2 separate regions of the Homo sapiens genome follow, and region 1 is linked to region 2. Evidence: promoter capture Hi-C in human tissues and cell types (Jung and others, 2019). All regions are on one chromosome and are shown on one strand. The core of a region is centred on a gene start or on the middle of the fragment in contact, and the rest is flanking DNA. Distances in the headings are between cores, read along the strand shown. Region 1 overlaps AGTPBP1 (ATP/GTP binding carboxypeptidase 1). Region 2 holds the start of C9orf153 (chromosome 9 open reading frame 153).

What was found. Contacts are between HindIII fragments. The study calls those that stand out against the background at their distance.
Region 1: a fragment that was not itself captured here is called in contact with the fragment with the promoter of C9orf153 in region 2 in 1 of the 25 tissues and cell types used here (lymphoblastoid cells).

Annotation. Positions count from the first base shown.
Region 1 is chr9:85,727,442-85,733,518 of GRCh38, forward strand. All of the region lies in intron 1 of AGTPBP1 (ATP/GTP binding carboxypeptidase 1), which reads right to left. Among named protein-coding and RNA genes, the nearest start is that of AGTPBP1, 11 kb to the right of the region's middle. The HindIII fragment of the contact is 5,941 bases long and covers 1,648-6,077 here.
Region 2 is chr9:86,258,407-86,264,434 of GRCh38, forward strand. It overlaps C9orf153 (chromosome 9 open reading frame 153), which reads right to left and starts at 1,251. Exons shown (of 4, transcript NM_001276366.4): 1 at 1,144-1,251. It also overlaps the pseudogene RN7SKP264. The HindIII fragment of the contact is 6,872 bases long and covers 1-4,820 here.

The DNA.
Region 1 (6,077 bases), core at 3,368-5,867, 530 kb before region 2:
GTATTAACTGTTATATAAAAACCTGCTCATTCAACAGTGTTTAAAGAACTGTGTAAAAACGTGGATGAAGAGGACATAAATCTACTACATACAGAAATACAGTGGCTTAGCAGAAGAATTCTCAACAGGTATCTAAGCTGAAAGACGAATTCCAGGAGTACTTTCACAAACACAGCAGACCAGATTTTGCCAAGTATTTTGAGAATGAAGAATGGCCCAATCTACAAACATTTGTTATCACATGAAGTAACTGAACAACTCTCTGCCAGGCCTTAGAGAAAATATTTTTAAGGCCAGTTGTGTTGATTCACACTTGTAATCCCAAGTGCTTTGAGGAGACCAAGGCAAGAGGATCACTTGAGGCCAGGAGTTCTGGACCAGCCTGGGTAACATAGTGATACCTCCATCTCTACAAAAAAATAAAAAAATTAAAAAAATTAGCTGGGCATGGTGGCATATGGCTGTAATCCCAGCTGCTTGGGAGGCTGAAGCAAGAGGAATCCCTGAGTCCAGGAGTTCAAGGTTGCAGTGAGCTATGACTGCATCACTATACTCAAGCAAGACCGTGTCTCAAAATATATATTTATATACACACACACACACACACACACACACACACACACACACACACACACATATTTACTTCAAGTGACAAGATTCTTGGGAAAAAAAATCCTGTGATTAAAAAAAGGCAATCTTAAAACGTTTCCATTGTTTCTTGGGCTTGTGAGTAAGAATGTTTATCTGCAAATCTCAAGTCTTGCTGATATAGGAGAAAAATATTGAAAAGGAAAAGTAAATAGTATTTCCCTTTTCTTTTCAAATAAATGTAAGACTGAGGAAGGAACCCTTTCTCTGAATCTTGTGCTCAGGCTGAGAACTTAACTTTGAGGAGGAGGAATTTTGCTCTTCCTCCTCACTGATTATACACTTAAGATGAGATTTATGCTCTTGATTATACACTCGAGATGAGATTTACTGATCTACCCCTAAAAAAGTTATGGATTTCCCTGAACCAGTAATGTCCTGCCAATCATAGGAAAGTAATGAACATTTAGCTGCAAGTTTTCAACTTCTTAAGTTTTTTCTTACTTAACAAGCACCTACAGCAAGGAGGAACTGTCTCATGTCAGATAAAAATGAAAACTGTGAATGCTTATTTCAAATTAAACAAAACAAAAACAGGTTTCATGTGAACAAGATGAACTTCTTTTAGTTTTAAAAGGCAATTTTATTGTATATGTTAAAGCCTACAAAAGATGAAAAAAATCAAAACACATACAAATATTTTGTTAACTTGTGGACTTATATTTCAGCCTCACCTTGCCAATCAGAAAAAAAAAAAAAGTTGGCTTATTTCAAAATCTTACATAAATTATGACTTGGACTATATTTTTATTAGTATTACCTTGGCTTATGGTTTTTAATAGCTTTGCTATTTGATATTGTCAATAATTTTCATGGTATATTAGGTGCAAAAGTAATCACAGTTATTGCCATCACTTTTAATGTTAATTGTACTTTTAATTAAAAGTAATGGCAAAAACTGTGATTACTTTCACACCAACCTAAATAAATAACATTAATTAAAATCAGCTAGTAGTAGCATAAAGACAGACATACAGACCAATGGAATGAAAGTCCAGAAATAAACTCATATATCTATGGCCAATCGATTTTTGACATGCATGTCAAGTCCATTCAGTTGGAAAAAATAGTCTCTTCAACAAATGGTGCTGGAACAACTTGATATCCACATGCCAAAGAATGAAGCAGCATTACTCACAACAGTCAGAAGATGAAAACCACCCAAGTGCCCACCAATAGATGAATGAACAATACATGGTAGAAACATACAATGGAATACTATTCAGCCATAAAAAGCAATGAAGTTCAATATACGCTACAACATAAATGAACCTTGAAAACATTACACTAACTGAATTAAAGACCTAAATGTAAGACCTAAACCATAAAACTCTTAGAAGAAAACACAGTGAACAAGTTGCTCAGCACTGGTCTTGGCAATTTTTTGCATAGGATCTAAAGTATGGGCAACAAAAACAAAAACAAATGGGACTACTACGTCAAACTAAAAAGTTCTGCACACCAAAGGAAATAACAAATGAAAGACAGCCTATAGGTTCGGAGAAAGTATGTGCCAGCCATACATCTAGATATATAGCTTATCTCAAGATACAAGGGGTTAATATCTTAAATACATAAGAAACACAACTCAATAGCAAAAAAAAAAAGAATGACCCAATTAAAAAATCAGCAAAAGACCTGAATACTCTTCCAAAGAATATATTAAAATAGCCAACAGGTATATAAAAAGTTGCTCCACATCACTTATCAGAGAAATGGAATTCAAGACCACAGTGAAATATCATCACCTCACACCTGTTAGGATGGCTATTATCAAAAAGACAAGAGACCTAAAAGTTATTTCACAGCTCCTCCAGGGTATAAAGATTTAGAAAAGTTGGGGCAGTCACTAGCAGGCAGCTGGTGCACACCAGAACAGGCCCAACATGGTTCTACAGCTAGTAAGGATAGTCTGAGGTTCCTGATTACCAGAGCCTCCTGACCTCAACTGTTTCCAGATTCTGAAACAGCAGTGTGGTTCCAGAAATGAAGCTCTAGAAGCAATTTCACAATTAGACCAGAGGTTTCCTAATCATAAAAGAGGTAACTCTCTTGGTTTCCCAGTTCTGTGGTAAGATGTGAGAGTTGTTCCTTAAAGCTCAACCTATGTCTCTTTCTTCAGATCTCTCAACTTAATTCCTCCTAAGTAAGCCACTTAATGCCTGTGCCAGATATTGATTTATTGCCCCTCATCTCCCAATTCGCCCTTTTTGTCTGCTCTGTGAAAATGAATTTGTGTCCTTTAAATATCTTTTTTATCTGCCAGCTGACATGACATTAAGCTGTGTCAGTAGACGGCTCTGGAAAAGCATTGCAAGGGAAAAGAATTGGGCTTCCTAGTTCCAGGGCATTCACTTGGCTCCAGTAGGCAAGGCTTTTCCAGGGACCCACTCCTTCAACAAGGATGGTTCTTCTACCACCAGGCTCCTCAGTGTGTGCTGCTTTTCCAATAAGAGCCTAGGTAGTTTTGTAGTAGAGGTCTCTGATGAGATACCTCTTCATAAACAGCATTCCCTGGTACCCTAAGGGGTAAATTTCCAGCAAATGCCACTAGTGCTGTACCATAGCTTGAACTTGCCCTTTGACATAGCCTTGAACGTGCCCTTTCCAATAAGATCTAAGTTCATCTGGAAGATGGAAACGCACTCTATCTTAGTCCTGGGATAGTCACTGCTCCTTATATCTGCTATTCCTATATTCTTTAGCATTATCTTTACTTCTCACTGGTAAATCTCTTATTACTCCAATCCCCTGTTACAGTCAATAATTCCTTATATTATTCTTTCCCTGTTAAATTACTATGTGGTTTCTATCTCCTGATTGAACCCATACTGATACATTCCAACAATTCTTTAAACTATTTAGCAGCCTATGGTAAACCTTCTCTTTGCTTAAGGGAAAGTAGTTCTTTCTCTACAAGTGTGTCTTTACTGTTTTATTTTTAAATGAAGGATTTGGGCCATGGAGTAGGAGAGGAATCGTACAATATCCTCAGAAATGAAATGAAGTTGTGACATCAACTTTTTTAAATTAGGAAGTGATACTAATCATGCATAGCCAGGGTCAAGAACCATTCCTAGGTCAGCCTATTCAATATTTTAATTGGAACATTAACTTCATCTTAAAGTACTATCACTCCTGTTATGCCTAACTGCTATTTTGAAACTTAGCCTACTATGAGATACCACTTCACAACCAATAGAATGGCTAAACTTTAAAAAGACAGATAATAACAAGTGTTAGCAAGGATGTGGGAAACTGGAACCCTCACACATTGCTGACAGGAATGTACAATGGTGCAATTACTTTGGAAGTAGTTTGGCAGGGTTTTTTTTTTCGGGGAGGGAAGTGTTTTGGTTTTTTTGTGTGTGTTTGTTTGTTTGTTTTTGAGACACGGTCTTGCTCTGTCACCCAGGCTACAGTACAGTGGCACAAACAAGGCTCACGGCAGCCTCAAACTCCTGGGCTCAAGTAATCCTTCTGCCTCAGCTGGGACCACAGGTGCACACCACCAGCCACCTAATTGTTTTTTCCATTCTTTGTAGAGACCGGGTCTTGTCATATTGCCCAGGCTGGTCTCAAATTCATGGGCTCAAGCAATTCTTCCACCTTGGCCTCCCAAAGTACTGAGATTACAGGCATGAGCCACCAAGCCCAGCCCAATGATTATGTTATATTTTAGTCCAATCTTCAAACAGGAAAATTGATTTCACCTATTTTATTGTCATTAATTTTATCAAAAAGTATGGGTAAGAGTAAATCTACAAAAAGCTTATGTATCTTTCCTGATCATGCATTCTTATCAAAACCAAACAAATCTGTAAGGTTCACACACTACTCCACAAAAAATGTTCAGATACTTATAAAAAGTCTAATTAGTTTTGCTTTGTGACATTTCCATTTTACTATCAATAAATGAGGTAGGTTTGAAGAGCAGAATCTCATTACCCTTCAACTATTAAATGATTTGTTTAAAATAACTCTTCCTCCAACTCAGATTTCAACTATTTTCAGACTTAAACAAAGCCAAAATTTCTAAGTCTATACAGATGATAAATGAGATTTAAAATCTTACCTTGAAACACACATTTTTCTCTGCCTCTAACCTATGACTATGACCCTTTTTTTTTTTTTTTTTTTTTTGAGACAGAGTCTTGCTCTGTCGCCCAGGCTGGAGTGCAGCGGCGTGATTTCAGCTCACTGCTAGCTCCACCTCCTGGGTTCCGGCCATTCTCCTGCCTCAGTTTCCCAAGTAGCTGGGACTACAGGCGCCCACCACCAGGCTCGGCTAATTTTTTGTATTTTTAGTAGAGACGGGGTTTTACCATGTTAGCCAGGACGGGACTATGAAGAAACCACTATAACTCAAATAGTGGTTTGGGTTTTTTTGAAGAAACCACTTTATGAAGAAAACCACTATAACCCAAAGTCAGCTCCAGCTAATATCCCAATATAAATCAAAATATATAAAATATGAGGAATAAAAACAGCTAATATGGCATATAAAAAACAAAGAACAGAAATAAGTAATTTACTTTAGGAAGTAATTACTTTAAATGTAAAGGGATTAAATTTGCCAATCAAAACACAAAGACTGGCAGAATAGATTTTTTTAAATGATCCAACTGTATGTTGTCTGCAGGAGACTTACTTTAGATCCCATTGCACAAATACATGGAACGTGAAAGAATGGAAGAAGATATTCCATGCAAATAGTAACCAAAAGAGAGCAGGAAGGGCTATACTAGTATCAGACAAAACAGACTCTGAATCAAATAAGTTTACAAGAGAAAAAGTATATTATATATTAATAAAAAGTTCAACAGAGCAAGAAGATAAAACAATTATAAACATTTACACACCAACAAAATATATGAAGTAGTTACAGATCATCAAAATACGAGGTAAAAATTAACATAATTATGGGGAGAAATACTTCTATAATAAAAGGTGGATACTTAATACACCATTCTCAATGAGGAAAAGAACAACCAGAAAGAAGTGAAGAGAGAGATGATTTGAACAACACAATGAATCAACTAGATCTAACATATATTTAGAACAAGGTACTCAACAACAGAATATAAATTCCTCTCAAGTGCACACAGAACATTCTCCAAAACAGGCCACATATTAGGATACAAATTAAGTCTCAATTGCTTTTAAAAGATATTTATCATACAAAGTGTGCTCTCCAACCTCACAACAGGATTAAGTTAGAAATCAATCTGAGAAAGAAAACTGGAAAATACACAAATTTATGGAAATTAAACAACGTACTCTTAACCAATGAATCAAAGAAGAAATCACTGGGTTAACCAGAAAATAGACACAAATGAAAGCAAAGACATGACATACCAAAACTTACAGGATATAGCAAAAGCAGTGCTGAGGAGAAAATCTATAGACATAAACACATTAAAAAGGAA
Region 2 (6,028 bases), core at 1-2,500:
TTGAAGTAATTACTTTTAGAGAGCTTGTTTGGAGGTTCTAGCAGGGGAGTGCAGCTACTCATATACCCTTGCCCAAAGAACGGCCCTCCTCTGTTGGGGAAGGTTGTCCGCAGCGTCTGGAAGGACGCATGTGGACGGATGAGGGAGGAAGGAGACATCCACCTAGCCAGCCAGATCAGACAAATTAACCCTGGCCATCAGTGGGGTGACAGATGTTGCAGCCAGATCACCCTCACATCCGGAAATAATTGCTTTTAAAACGCAATATTTGAAAACCTGAATTTTCTTGGGTAAGCAACTATTATATTGCTAATTTAACGAAACTTTTTTTAAAAATATTAATATACTTAAATTTTAGAGCAATTTTAGAATTGGTTAGAAAGTACAATGTTCCCACAACCCCCCTTCTCTGCACCATACACACAGCTTTCCCCTTTTTTTTTTACTACTTATGTTTGTGTGGTACGTTTGTTATACTTGATGAGCCGGTATCAATGCATGGTTACTAACTAAAGCCCATACTTCACAGTTTACATTACGGTCCATTCTTGGTGTTGTGCATTCTATGAGATTTCACAATGTGCAATTACATATATCCACTTTGATAGTATCATACAGAGCAGTGTTTTTTTTTTTTCTTTGAGATAGGCTCTCATTCTGTCACCCCAGCTGGAGTGCAGTGGCGTGAACACAGGTCACTGCAGCCTCAACCTCCCAGGCTCAGGTGATCCTCCCATCAGCCTCCCAAGTGGCAGAGGAAAAACAAAGGACACTGGGTGTGAGGGAGAGGTGCAAAGTCAGGACCAAGCATCCATGGGAACACAGGGGAGGATGAAGGCACTGAGGTTGGGGAGAGAGAGCAGAGCTATCAGTGTTGAAGGCCGGAAAGGATGAGGGAGTCTGCAGGCTCGGCCCGATCAACTGGTTCCAGCTTCTGTGACCTGCCTGGAGGAAGATGAAACAGGCTCCTCATCCTTATTGGTAAAGATAAACCCAAATCCCATCTCACCTCCCAGCTCTGGTCTTCCCACCTTAGCCACTGCCCACCTCACTCCATCTCTCCTTGCCAAGCCTAGACTGGCTTAGTTTTCACTGCTCTGTGGTCTCACAGTGCCCCGTGGCTATGGCTGTAGATGCACTTACCACTTGTTTTACAGTTGTCTCTTCACGTGGTCATATCTGTCTTGAGTCTCTGCACTCCCAGGGCAGAGGCTGGGTCTCATTCATCCAGCAGCCCCAAGGCCCAGCCCCACTCCTAGCATGTGTCATTGCTTAGTGTTAAGTGACTGTCCATTGTGACATGTGGACATTCTCAAGGTCACATAAGCAGCTATATGATGCTAAGCGATGGGGAATTATCTTGCTGCTTGGTGGGGGGTGGGAGACGGTGGAGGATGATGGAAAAGCATTTTTAAAGAGTGAACATTGAGTAGCTGAGTAGCTACTTTTTTTTCTGCCTCAGCTTGTGGCTGGGACCCCGGGCGCACGCCACCACGCCTGGCTAATTTATGTATTTTTCTCTAGAGATGGGGTTTCGCCATGTTGCCCAGGCTGGCGTGAGTATAATTTTTTTTTTTTTTTGAGATGGAGTCTCACTCTGTCGCCCAGGCTGGAGTGCAGTGGCACGATCTCAGCTCACTGCAAGCTCCGCCTCCCGGGTTCACGCCATTCTCCTGCCTCAGCCTCTTGAGTAGCTGGGACTACAGGTGCCGTGAATGTAATTTTTAATCAGTCAAGTTTTTCCTTCTATAGACATGGGCAAAGTGCAAATAAGAAATTGAGAGAGATAATAGAAGGTACAGCTATGCTCTTTGCACCTGGCCAGATATGGGTAGAAGTGGACCAGGGGCTACCTGGCTGTGCAAATTCTCTCCATGAGCCATGCAGCCGTGCTCCAGACTCCATTCCCCACCCATGGGAGGTCCCTGTGGCAATCACTGAAAATTTTCCTGAAACAGCCATTTCCCCAGAATGCAATCTACTGGGCATTTAAATAGTCTGATTGAGTTAATAACTTGTGAACACCGTGGCAACATATCCATAACATGAAGCTTACCGTGTTAAGCCGTTTTAGGTACACAGTTCTGTGGCATTCAGTACATTCACATTGTTGTGCCACCTGCACTGCCTTCCATCTCCAGAGCTTTTTCATCTTTTCCACCTGAATCTGTGTCCATGAAATAAATTTCTCACCCCCTGTCCCCTGTCAATGGACACCTGGGTTGTTCCTACCTTTTGGCTATTGTGAATAATGCTGTTATGAACATGGATATACAAGAAAGTTAATAATTTTAAGCAGAATTTAATAAATACAGAAGATTCTTCCAATGAGAAAATATTTCAAAAGCCTGCCATTCAAAGGTGTTCTGCAGAGCAACAGCACTGGCTTCACTTGGGCCTTTGCTACTAATGCAGAATCTCAGGCTCTGCCCTGGACCTTTGTTACAGAATCTGCTTTTTTTTTTTTTTTGAGACAGTTTTGCTCTGTCACCCAGGCTGGAATGCAGTGGTGCCATCTCATGTCACTGCAACCTCCCCACCTCCCAGGTTCAAGTGATTCTCCTGCCTCAGCCTCCTGAGTAGCTGGGACTAGAGGCGCCCACCACTATGTCTGGCTAATTTTTGTGTATTTTTAGTAGAGATGGGGTTTCACCATGTTGGCCAGGCTGGTCTCGAACTCCTGACCTCAAGTGATCCACTCGCCTCAGCCTCCCAAAGTGCTGGATTACAGGCGTGAGCTACCTACTGCGCCCGGCCAAGAATCTGCTTTTTAACAAGACCCCCAGGTGACTTATTTGCACCTTAAAGTTTGAGGACTGCTTCAAGACATAGAATCCATGGAGAACAAAAAATGAGTACTTTATTTTTTATTCTTTTTTTTTTTGAGACAGGGTCTTGCTCTGTCATCCAGGCTGGAGTGCAGTAGTACGATCTTGGCTCACTGCAACCTCTACCTCCTGGGCTAAAGTGATCCTCTCACCTTGGTCTCCTGAGCAACGGGGACTACAGGCATGTACCACCATGACCAGCTAATTTTTGTATTTTTTGTAGAGACGGCGTTTTACCACGTTGCCCAGGCTGGTCTTGAACTCCTGGGATCAGGTGATCTGCCCACTTTTGCCTCCCAAAGTGCTGGGATTACAGGCTTGAGCCAACACACCTGGCCCAATAAATGGGCACTTCATCATGAAAAGTTTCGGAATCACTAGCTAGTGGAAGTAAAAGCAGTAACCCATCAAGGCCCTCAAAGTAGGCTAGTTTTAAGCTGAGTACCGCTGGTACAGAGCCCTTGCCCCGCTAAAGGTTGGTGTGAAATGAAGCCTTCCCTGAACACTGCACAGCAGCAAGGGAGGATGGGAGTCCACAGTGATGTAACCACCACATGGCTCTGTATTTCAATAGAGGCTGAGGCTAGGGTGCACCTCCCTCTCTCCTCCATCTCTTGTCTGATGAGACCCACCTGGGACCAGGAGATTGAGTTCCTACTGGGGAATGAGCTTTCAAAACAGCTCCTCAATTAAGGCAGGTTTGTCTATAGTTAATCAGCTACTAAGAGAATGAAATTTCTCCGAATGTTTATATTTGAAATTTATGGTTCTTTTCAAAGAAGTTACTGTGGTCTTTTATTTGAAGGAAATACAGCAAATTTCCCCCAGATTTGAATATGGGACAATAACTCCCTAAATGTGTTGAAACTCTTTCCCTAAGCTCTTGCTTTGATTGATAATCCATTAACATATTATCCCTTTTTGCACAAGAAAATGGCTAAAAGGGACAAGAATTACAACGTATGAAACGTCTACCCTTAGCAGGATGCCATTTATGTGTAGTTAGCTCATCACATCCCCCCAAATTCTGAGACTGTTTTACAGAAGGTTACATGGCTACAAAATGACAGGAACCATGATTCAAATCCAGGCATATCTCACCCCAAACCTACACCTTTCCAGGCCAGCCTCCCAGCCTGCACTGAGCTCAGGTGAGCTGTATTTGGGTTTATTCTGGGTCGATGCTGTGTCTGGCCCATGCCACGTCTGCTCTAAGGCTCAAATGAGACACTGATGTTGCTTACAGCTCAGCTTAGCACAGGCTTTTCCATTTCCTGATTTCTCAGGTATCAAAACATGACAAGAAAGGCCATTTTTTTTTTGAGGTATTTCCTGCTGAGTGAAACCTAGGAAATACTGGAAATCTTAGGGACATCTGATCTTGTAGGGATTGTTCCCAACCCTTTCCTGTTTGAGAAAAAAAAAATCATTCTGGTGGGTCCGGTGACAGAGGGCTGGGAGGCGCCCTGCAACAATGAAGCACAGCAGGCCTCTGTCCTCATGGCCTGATTCATTCAATTTAGCATCCTGATGTGGAAGAGTGGGCTTATAACTGATCATGAAAAGCCTGAAGTCTGCTGCTAAGCGACAGATCTGCTGGCCTACACATCACCCAGGGGCACTACCAAATCGCCTAACACAATGACCAGTGTTTGTGAGTAGAATGTGGATGAATGTGGTGCAACAGACAGAACCTTCCTGGTGAGGGCTAAGGCTTGCATGACATGGTGTGACATGGCCGTAGGATGGAGCCATTTTGCAAAAATAATTCTGACCTGCCCGATGCTAAACGAACACTGAAGAAGCAATTGCGTTCCTGTCTCCAAGATCCTTTCAATATTGTACAAGAGACAAGAACCAAAACCAATGAACAGTACAAGTACTGCCTGTACAAATAGAAATGAGTCACAGAACACTGGCTGATGAGGTTGGGCTACGGATAGAGTACCATCCTTTCTGCCTCCTAAGCCTTTCTCTCACGGGTCCCTGCTCAGGTCCTATTATAGCGGGCTTTGCAGTAGCTTCTTCCTGTCCTCATCAGCCAGCCTAGTCCAGGCCATGGAAACACTTCCAAATGCAATTTTCTAATGAGTGCCCCTAAACACTTTCAGTGGCCCCAAGGCCTACAGAACTTGCAGAAAGCCCAAACGCCCCAGGCATCTACCTTGCCCTCCAGCCTTACTGCTCCTCTCCGGGCCTCATTCTCCGGAGTGCTTAGCTTCACTGTGTTTTTATTATTACTTTTTATTATACTTTAAGTTCTAGGGTACATGTGCACAACGTGCAGGTTTGTTACTTATGTATACATGTGCCGTGTTGGTGTGCTGCACCCATTAACTCGTCATTTACATTAGGTATATCTCCTAATGCTATCCCTCCCCCACGACAGGCCCTGGTGTGTGATGTTCCCTGCCCTGTGTCCAAGTGTTCTCATTGTTCAATTCCCACCTATGAGTGAGAACACGCCCTCTGTGTTTTTTCAACCCTCTTTAGTACTGTTCACTGTCTTCCCTCTTCCCCAAATCTCTTTCAACTAGGCGCAGGGGTCATAACCTGTAGGCTACCTTTTTAGAAGCGCACTCCGTTGGTTCTATCAGGACACGCAGTATGGCCTAACAGCTGGGAGCACAGCATCTGGAGCCATAGACACAGGGTACGATTCTGACTTGGCCACCTTAGCTATTTTATTTAAGCTGTGTTTTGGTTTATCTATGAAAAAGACAGTAGTCAGACCTGCATTCTCGATTGCTGAGATGATGTTTATTAGAACACTTCCTGGCATGCAGTGAGCATGCCATCACCACCAGCTGCTCACAACACTTACCATGGTGATCGATGCTCTTCGCTGGTGTCTCATTTGCCGACTTGAAGCTCTCTGAGGTTGGGACTGTCTTTGATGACCTGTGAAAGCTCAGGGCTAGTGGAGAGTCAGTGCTCACTACTGTGCCTGAGTGAACAGCTGAGAACCTTCTTGGAGGAGGTTCACATAAAAGCTCAGATGACAGAGGGAAAAGCACTCCAGGTAGTGATAATGCTCTCGTCCTAAGGACATGAGGAACCTGCTTGGGGGATGGATGACCCTCATGGGGAACAAGGAGGAAAAAGAGGCTAGCAAAGCCAGGGAGATGAGAGACACCTGAGATGGTCTCTCCAGGGCTGTGTGGAGAATCAGCAGCTAGGACTCTGGACGAAACAGTGTC